Regions from separate parts of the Homo sapiens genome. Here regions 1 and 3 are each linked to region 2. The links are contacts of gene promoters, found by promoter capture Hi-C in blood cells and fetal thymus (Javierre and others, 2016). All regions are on one chromosome and are shown on one strand. The core of a region is centred on a gene start or on the middle of the fragment in contact, and the rest is flanking DNA. Distances in the headings are between cores, read along the strand shown.

What was found. The method cuts DNA at HindIII sites, captures the fragments that hold promoters and counts their contacts. A CHiCAGO score of 5 or more calls a contact.
Region 1: a contact is called between a fragment that was not itself captured here and the fragment with the promoter of CDK17 in region 2, in 3 of 17 cell types (fetal thymus, monocytes and naive CD4 T cells). The highest score is 6.7, in fetal thymus.
Region 3: a fragment that was not itself captured here is called in contact with the fragment with the promoter of CDK17 in region 2 in 1 of 17 cell types (neutrophils); the score reaches 6.3 in neutrophils.

What each region holds. Positions count from the first base shown.
Region 1 is chr12:95,852,898-95,855,597 of GRCh38, reverse strand. All of the region lies in intron 1 of SNRPF-DT (SNRPF divergent transcript), which reads left to right. Among named protein-coding and RNA genes, the nearest start is that of SNRPF-DT, 4.6 kb to the left of the region's middle. The HindIII fragment of the contact is 1,573 bases long and covers 570-2,142 here.
Region 2 is chr12:96,399,057-96,401,756 of GRCh38, reverse strand. CDK17 (cyclin dependent kinase 17) reads left to right here and starts at 1,318. Exons shown (of 17, transcript NM_002595.5): 1 at 1,318-1,771. RefSeq lists an enhancer at 335-554 and silencers at 975-1,304, 1,395-1,574, 1,755-1,914. The HindIII fragment of the contact is 3,343 bases long and covers 1-2,700 here.
Region 3 is chr12:95,870,736-95,873,435 of GRCh38, reverse strand. CCDC38 (coiled-coil domain containing 38) reads left to right here. Exons shown (of 16, transcript NM_182496.3): 14 at 976-1,181. Among named protein-coding and RNA genes, the nearest start is that of SNRPF, 13 kb to the right of the region's middle. The HindIII fragment of the contact is 2,748 bases long and covers 1-2,700 here.

The DNA of each region.
Region 1 (2,700 bases), core at 107-2,606, 550 kb after region 2:
CCTCTTTGAGAAGAAGGGGACCAATACATATTGAATGCCTTTCATGTTATGCTAGGATATTTTATTATGTAATTTGTCTAATTTAAATCCTCACAGTACTTCAAGGTAGATATTATTATCATCCCCATTTTAGAGATGAGGAGACAGCTTCAGAGAGATTATGTATTTTTGTCAAAAGCCATGTGGAAGGTAAAATGGCTCCAAAGCCTAAGATTTTTCCTTTATACGATGCTGCCGCTCCCAAAAATGTGGTTAAGTAGAGTACAAATAAACAAATATATAGAAATACAAATATTAATGCAGTCAATGAAGAGGGATAGCATTTAGGAAGTTACTTTTGAAATTGATGAGCTCTTCTTTTTATTTTGTTTATTCTCATAATTCCAACATCTTATTTTTTTCTGATTATGGCCAGAATCAGCTACAGGTATGATCGGAATAGGTTTAAAGGAGGAAAAATCCAAGATTTGAATGCTGTCAGGTGGAAGCTTTTTATATATTTTTTGTCAAACCTGAGAGATATGGTATTCTGTCTACCGAAGAAGTTAAGATTAAAAAATATATAAGCTTCTTTGGATCATACAAACACTGAACCTAGATTAGAATTCAAATCTTTTTGGTGGTTCAAAGCCCATTGTACCATTATAGAGAGACAATCATACCTCAAAGGTGTAGGAGCATAAGAACCTCCTCTCTCACCTCTTGAGGTTTGATATTTGAGTCTGAGAAATAAATAGACAATAGACCAATTGGTCTATCTATCCAAAACAAGGAGAAAAAGCACAGCGTAATTGATTTATGCGCATGGGAGCATCACAGGAAGGCGAATGCCCAATTCTAGTAGTGCTAGACCCAATAAGGTCTAGAAGTTTATATACCCTTATGCATAGGGGAGAGGGGAATGCAGGATGTAGGCAATTTTAGAAGAGTAATAAGTGATTTTTACAAGAGATGAATGGGTCCATGGAACAGACAATAGTCTGGGACAAAGTTCATCTGGGCTGTGGGTATGGTGTTTGATTTTCAGTCTTTTCCTCTGTGATATGAGTTTAATTTTCCTTGGTTAATGAAATTTCAGTAAGAAGATTGAAGACAATTGTTTTCCTCTTCAGTGGATTGGATCTTTAGGTAGATAAGGAAACTTCAGAGAAAAGTCTCTTCCTGTGCTTCAGGAGAGGAGGAGGGGCAAGAGATGGGGGGTGGGAGAAGGTCAGAGAGAAGGTCAGACCTTGGTTCTGAGGCTGCTGCTTTAGTGCAAAGTAGCAGTATGCTTCGGGGTATCATTTTCTGAGCCCCAACAAAGGAAACCTGGTATTGTGGGTAGGAGCCAATACTGTCTGAGTTCAAATCCTGACTCTGCCATGTGCAGCTTATCTCTGCTTCAATCTCCTCATCAATAAAGAGGATGATCATGATAGTACCTATCTTAAAAAAATTTTTTTTTAGTGAGGTGGGCTGTAACTATGTTGCCCAGGCTGGTCTCAAACTCCTGGGCTCAAGCAATCCTCCTGTCTCAGTCTCCCAAGTGGCTGGGATTATGGGTGTATACCACCATGCCCAGTTCAATACCCATCTTATAAGGCTGCTATTAGGATACAATATTTGTGGTGTTTATCCACCTCCTGATACTGAATAGTTTCTGTAGCGAGGTACGTAGGCACGTGAGTAGGTCAATGTGACCTACAATAACTAATGCTAATAACTAATATTGGACTACTTGTTTGCTGTTTGCTAAACTGCTGCTTGCTCAAAAAGTTCTGGGCTGTTGGCTTTGATTCTTCAGCTGTGCTGGAATCCACTGTGCACATCTATCTGTCTGGGTCTATCACTTCACCTCTTGGGACCTGGGGGGCAAGGGAGGCTGACATGGCTAAGACAATGCTTCTGTTTGCTGTGTGTAGTAAACTGTCTTGTTCTGATCCACATAGTCTCATTGTCTCCTTTCAGCACCTGTGGAGAGACAGCAGGTTTACTCCTTGCTACCTGAAGTTGGGGTTCTCTCCTGACTCTCACAGGGTTAACATTAAATGAAGAACATTAAATGAGATAATATATGCAACGCAGTACAATATCTGGTCAGTTCGATAAATATTTGTTCTCCTACATTTATATTCAATCAAAATCTAATTATCCCCAAAAGCTTGGTTTAAGTAATGTAAAACCAATGTAAAAGTAGCACCTTATATATTTATGGGGAGACCAATCCCTTTATGGACCAGAAAATTAGTTTGCCTAATAACTCAAGATATAAGAGATTAGTCTAGACCCAAAACCACATTTATTAGCCATTAAGTGCAGAGGGAGCTGGAGGGAGCTAGCAATCAAGGACCTGGGAAACAGATGAGACAGAAAATGAGTGGATGCATACAATTTGTTCATATATATTGAGTTATATTAAAAAAGCAGTATAGGCCAGGCAGTGTGGTGCATGCCTGTAATCCCAGCACTTTGGGAGGCCGAGGTGGGTGGATCACTTGAGGCCAGGATTTCAAGACCAGCCTGGCCAACATGGTGAAACCCCATCTCTACTAAACCTCGTCTCTACTAAAAGTACAAAAATTAACCAAGCATGGTAGTGCATGCCTGTAAGCCCAGCTACTCAGGAGGCTGAGACACAAGGATCACTTGAACGCAGGAGGCAGAGGCTGCAGTCAGCCGAGATGGCACCACTGCACTCCAGCCTGGGCGACAGAATGGGAC
Region 2 (2,700 bases), core at 69-2,568:
TTACGGGTCCTGGTAATTTTAGAGGCATGGGAAAAGCCTGATTGACACGTACGATCGTTGGATATAACTGTAGATGCATTTAACTTTGCCAAACAAAATAAGAGAAAGATGTCAGCATGCAGCATTTTTAAGGGGGAAAGGATTCATCCCTAAATCCAAAAAGATAATTCCCCGAAGTTCTTAGCACATAATGTGATTTGAAACTTCAAAGCAGCTTCTACTTCCGGGTGTTAACATGGGAAAAAAAATTTATCTCACTTCACAGGACTTTTATGTGGGTTTTTTTTTCTTGTTTATGTTGTCTACATCCGGTCCCTACTCTCTTCTTTCAATCCTCTCATTATCTCCCTCTAGGGGTTTAAGTTTGTTTTAACTTTATGCTTTTATCCTTATTAGTGGAAAAAAGTGGGTCAGTATTACTTTAGTTTGTCTTCACTGCCACTCTGCTGTTCATTCCTGAACTAGCTTTTAGCCTCTGGGAAAGGAGAAAGTAAAAACAGTTGCAGAAACTGGGCCAACCTCTCGCGGCCCGCCTCCCCCAAGAAAACAAAACCTAACCCGTGCAACAGTAGTCCTTTCTGTTTTCATAGCACCTTGTATTTCTCCGCTCATAACGTTCAGATTTTTATGATAGTTATTGATCATCTTTCATCCCAGCTAGACTCTCCGTCCTTAGAGGACTCAGCATATTGCCGGGCACATGATAATATATACAAAACACTGTACTGTAGTTTAAATGAATAGATGCCGTGTGTGTGAGAGACTGCGGCACTAGTACCCACGTACCCACACACAACAAAGGAGAAAAGTTGCAGCCATCAACATCTTTCAGTGTGGGTCCTTTGACATGGACTCTCTAGAAAGTCAGTGGAGAACTGTGGCATGGACACCTTGTACAGTAATTACTTGTATAACTGAAGCACGAGTTTTGGTTTGGTAGCGGGAAGTTGAGGGGCAGGGGGATGTTGGAGGGGCTGAATTATTCACATAATTTCTCCCCCAGTCGCTGCGGACAGGCACTCATTCCGGTGGGGTCCCCTGGCCCCCTCCGCCGCTCCCCCGACGCCCGCATTTCGGAGCGGGCAGTTTCCCGGGGACACCCGCCCCGCCCTGCAGGCCCCGCCCCCGGCCGCCGGCCCCGCCCCCGCCTCCGCCGCCGCCGGCAGGGGTCGCGCTGCCCCCGGCGAGCCGCTCAGGCGGGGGTGGGGTAAGCTCCCGCGGCCGGTCGCTTTTCTCCGCCGCCGCTGGTTGGATCGTTTCAATAAAAGTGTTTTTTCTCTTGCACTCGCTCTCCTCCGGGGAACAGGCGGAGGCGTCAATCCGCAGCCGCCGAGTGTGAAAGCGACGCACACGCAAGGAGCGAACGCGGCCGCCCGCAGTCTCCTGAGCTCCCCGCGGGCCGCCGCAGAGCCGCGGAGAAGGAGCCAGCGCCCGGCCAGACAGTCTCAGCCCGCCGTCGGCGCCCGCCGCGCTCGCGCCCGGCTGCTCCGAGGGGATTAGTGGGCCGTCCGCGCGGCTCGTCGGCGCGGGAGCCATGTTGACCGAGGGACTTGGCAACGCGTGAGACACCCGCGGCCCCTCCCGAGGCTCCGGACCCGCGGCGAGAGCCGGAAGGCGGCTGTGGCGGCGGAGGCCTGCGCTCGGAAGCGCCTCACGTCTGCCGGCCGCTGAGACCCGGACTTGCATCCGGTCGCCGCGGGCGTCCGCGGAGCAGCTTCCCCCCGCGCCTCTCTTCGCCTCGCCTCGGGACCCGCGGTCCCCGCTCTTGCTGGTGAGTTGGCGGCTGGCGTCCGCGCCGCGCTTTCCCCTGGTGTCGGGTCGGCCGCGGGGCCGGGAGGCTGCGTGGGACAGAGGCGGGGGCGGGGGCTACTGGGGGCGCGGGTGGCTCAGGCCCGGTCGGGAAGTTGAGCGAGGAGGCGCGGCGCGGGGGGCTAGCGTGCGCCTGTCACCTCTCCGGTCCAGCGAGGACCTTGGGTCGCCCGGGGATTTCCGGGGCTCGGGTGGGGTGTGAGTGTCTGCGAGCTGCTTCCCAGGAGGCGCCGACAGATATAGACGCCGCCGCCTCCGGTGCTCGCTGCCGCTTTGGTCTGCGGGGGAGGCCGGTCTCCTCGCGAGGCGGAGGAGGGGAAAGAGGCAGAAAGTCCCCCGAGACACAAAGGTCCCCTCGGCGGGGGTGGAGCTGGAGGCGCAGGCGACGCTGCCCGGGAGGGGAAGGAAGGGGCGCGGGTCCGCGGGAGGTGGGCGAGGAGGCGGCGGTCGCGGCGCCTGCAGCTCCTTGGAGACGCTGGCGCTGTGCGCGGGTGGGGAGCGCGGAGGAGGAGGAGGAGCCCGCGCGTGGGAGCGGGTAGAGACAAAGATCAGGGCAGCCTCCTGCTGGCGGGTCACACCCCGGAGTGTTGGTCAAGAGCGGAGGTAGAGGGAAGGTGGGAAACCCAGCAAACCGATGGGGAGGGGAAAATGGGGGGAGGAGGGTGCCTAGTGCTGTCTCCGTCGCAGTTGCTTTTCTCAGCATTTTTGTGCCCGATGCTATGCCCGATGCTTTTGCTCCCCAACTCAGCTGGATAGCTCCAGATTCCCTCCCTCCTGTCACCCCCACACTGCCACATTGACTCTCCTGTGGTTTTTCCCTCGTTCTCCCCCTACTTTTCACCCACTCCTTTTCGGGTAAGCAGTATTTTGCTTTCAGCTTGGGGAACATTT
Region 3 (2,700 bases), core at 97-2,596, 530 kb after region 2:
TTCCCAACGAAAACAGTGAAAATGATACTTCTAAAAAGGCTTTGGTAGGCCAGCCTGGGTACCTGTTTGCTTGCAACTTTTTTTTCTGAGAATGCATTTAGTCATTTATTCAGCAAACATTTATTCAGTGCGTAGTTATGTGCAAAGCACTGTTTTAGTTGTAAGTTTAAGCATAAGATGTAGCTCCTGCTCTCCTGGACTATAAGGATAAGGCAGAGAACTATTACATAGGATGATTATAGTTTCGCAATTATAACAGAGTAATACATGCAAAAAAGGAGGGGGGCTGGGTTACATATTGTGCCAAAAGGAAATGCATCCGAGTGGCAAAAAAACGATTTAAAATGTTTGTTGCCTGTATTTGAATTCTTAGGGAGTCAGATATACAAAAACATTCAAGCAAAAAATATTCCACCCATTATAATTACTTTTCATATCTAGAGTTCAGTATATTTTAAGAAAATAATCCAAGGTGTTCTATAGTAATGCTCTGACTATAAATTATAATATAGGTTAAATATCACTGCTGCATTTTCTCAATGATTTATTAAAACTTCTCATTTTAAAAAGTAAACATTAGGCCAGGCACAGTGGCTGATGCCTGTGGCCGAGGCAGCTCGATCACCTGAGGTCCGGAATTCAAGACCAGCCTGGCCAACACGGTGAAGCCCCAGCTCCACTAAAAATACAAAAATTAGCTGCGCGTGGTGGCGCATGCCTGTAGTCCCAGCTACTTGGGTGGCTGAGGCACAAGAATCGCTTGAACCTGGGAGGCGGAGGTTGCAGTGAGATGAGATTGCACCACTGCACTCCAGCCTGGGTGACAGAGTGAGACTCCGTCTCAAAAAAAATAATAAAAATAAAAATGTAAACATTTAATAGCATATACATGGGATTTTACTGTAATATAGTAAAATGGTATATTTATTGAATGTGGAATGTGATGTTAATGTTTTCTGCTCTTCTCAATCTCAGGAAATACTGATAGACTCACTTAGTAAAAAGATTACTCAAGTATACAAAGTCTGCATTGGAGATGCTGAGGATGACGGCCTCAACCCAATTCAAAAGCTGGTAAAAGTAGAATCTCGCCTGGTAGAACTGTGTGACCTCATCGAATCCATTCCCAAAGAAAATGTGGAGGCAATTGAGAGGATGAAACAGAAAGAATGGCGGCAAAAGTACAGTCAATAAGGATAAGAATGACTTAATGAGTAGCTGGTTTTGCTCAGATTCCACAAACACATTAGCAAGTCTCTTGTGTAATGTCATATTATAGGGACACAGTGAGGAGGAATGAAATCCAGCCCTGCTCTCCTCATATAGCTATTATTTAGCATGGGAGATCATTCATCAAATACTCTTAGGAAATAAATGTGTCATTACCAATGGTAATGAGCACCACGAAGGAAGGAACTGGGTGAACAGAGTTCACCAGGGGCAACTGACCTAGTTTGGGATGGACAAACTAGCCTGGAAAAGCAAATCTTTGTAATTATATGAAATTTATGAATAAGTAATTACATGAAAATTTTTGAATAGCTATCATGGGGAAGGAGAATTGCACTGGTGGTGAAGGACCCAAGATATAGAATTAGGAGCCTGTCATGGGAAAACTTCAAGCAGACTCAATCTACCTGTGGTTCTCCCATGAAGGGCTCCAAATTCCTAATGAAGGAATTGTTTGAAAGTCTGAGCAACACAATGAGGGTTTTCCGCAGTGTATAACTGCCAACATGTACACAACATTCACTCATTTATTCCTCAAGACAACCTCATGAGGATTATCATCCCTGGAGCCCCAACCCATCCCCCACATGCTTACATAGCTTGGTGCCCTTCAAAGGAGATCTGTGCATTGAGGGCGGTATGGCCTGACCGGGGCCTTTCAGAATGCGTTCACTTACAAATTTCCATACCAAGTTAAATAAGAACTTTTAAGTACAAACAGTTGTCCCTTGGTATCTGTAGGGGATTGGTTCCAGGACCTCCCAAGGATACCAAAATCTGCAGATGCTCATGTCTCATATAAGACGGCATATTTGCATATAACCTACGTACATCCTCCTGTATACTTTAAATCATTTCTCAACTACTTATACCTAATATAGTGTAAATGCTAGAGTTGTCATACTGTATTTCTTAAAATTTGTATTATTTTTATTGTTGGGGCTTTTCTCCAAATATTTTCAATCTGCAGTTGGTTGAATGCCCAGATGTGGAACTGTGAATATGGAGGGCCTACTGTCCTAGTTTGAGGCAATGATTATTGTAAATATGACCCCTAGCTTACTGTGGCATGTAGGGAATGTTTACAAGTGGGATAATGTTCACGTAATGGCAAAAAACATGTTGAGAGGCAGACTAGTACTCAGGCTACCAGCCTGGGGATTAGACCATGCTGAGTGAGTTCAGTTCAACTATTTATGACTTTGTGACCTTAGGCAACATAAGCACTCTAGTCGGTTTCTTTATCCGTAAAACGGGAGTAATACTGATAAATACAGGTTGTTGTGAGGATTAAATTAGATGATCCAAGTAAATTATGAGAGCATGCTTGGCGCATAGTAAGTACTCAAATATTAGCCAGTAGTGTTAGATATTTTGTTATTGCCTACTACTTTATGGATGTAGGGTGGATATGCTTACCCACAGTAAAAATGATGTCCAGACTATATCATGGTGATCCTGATGGGATCT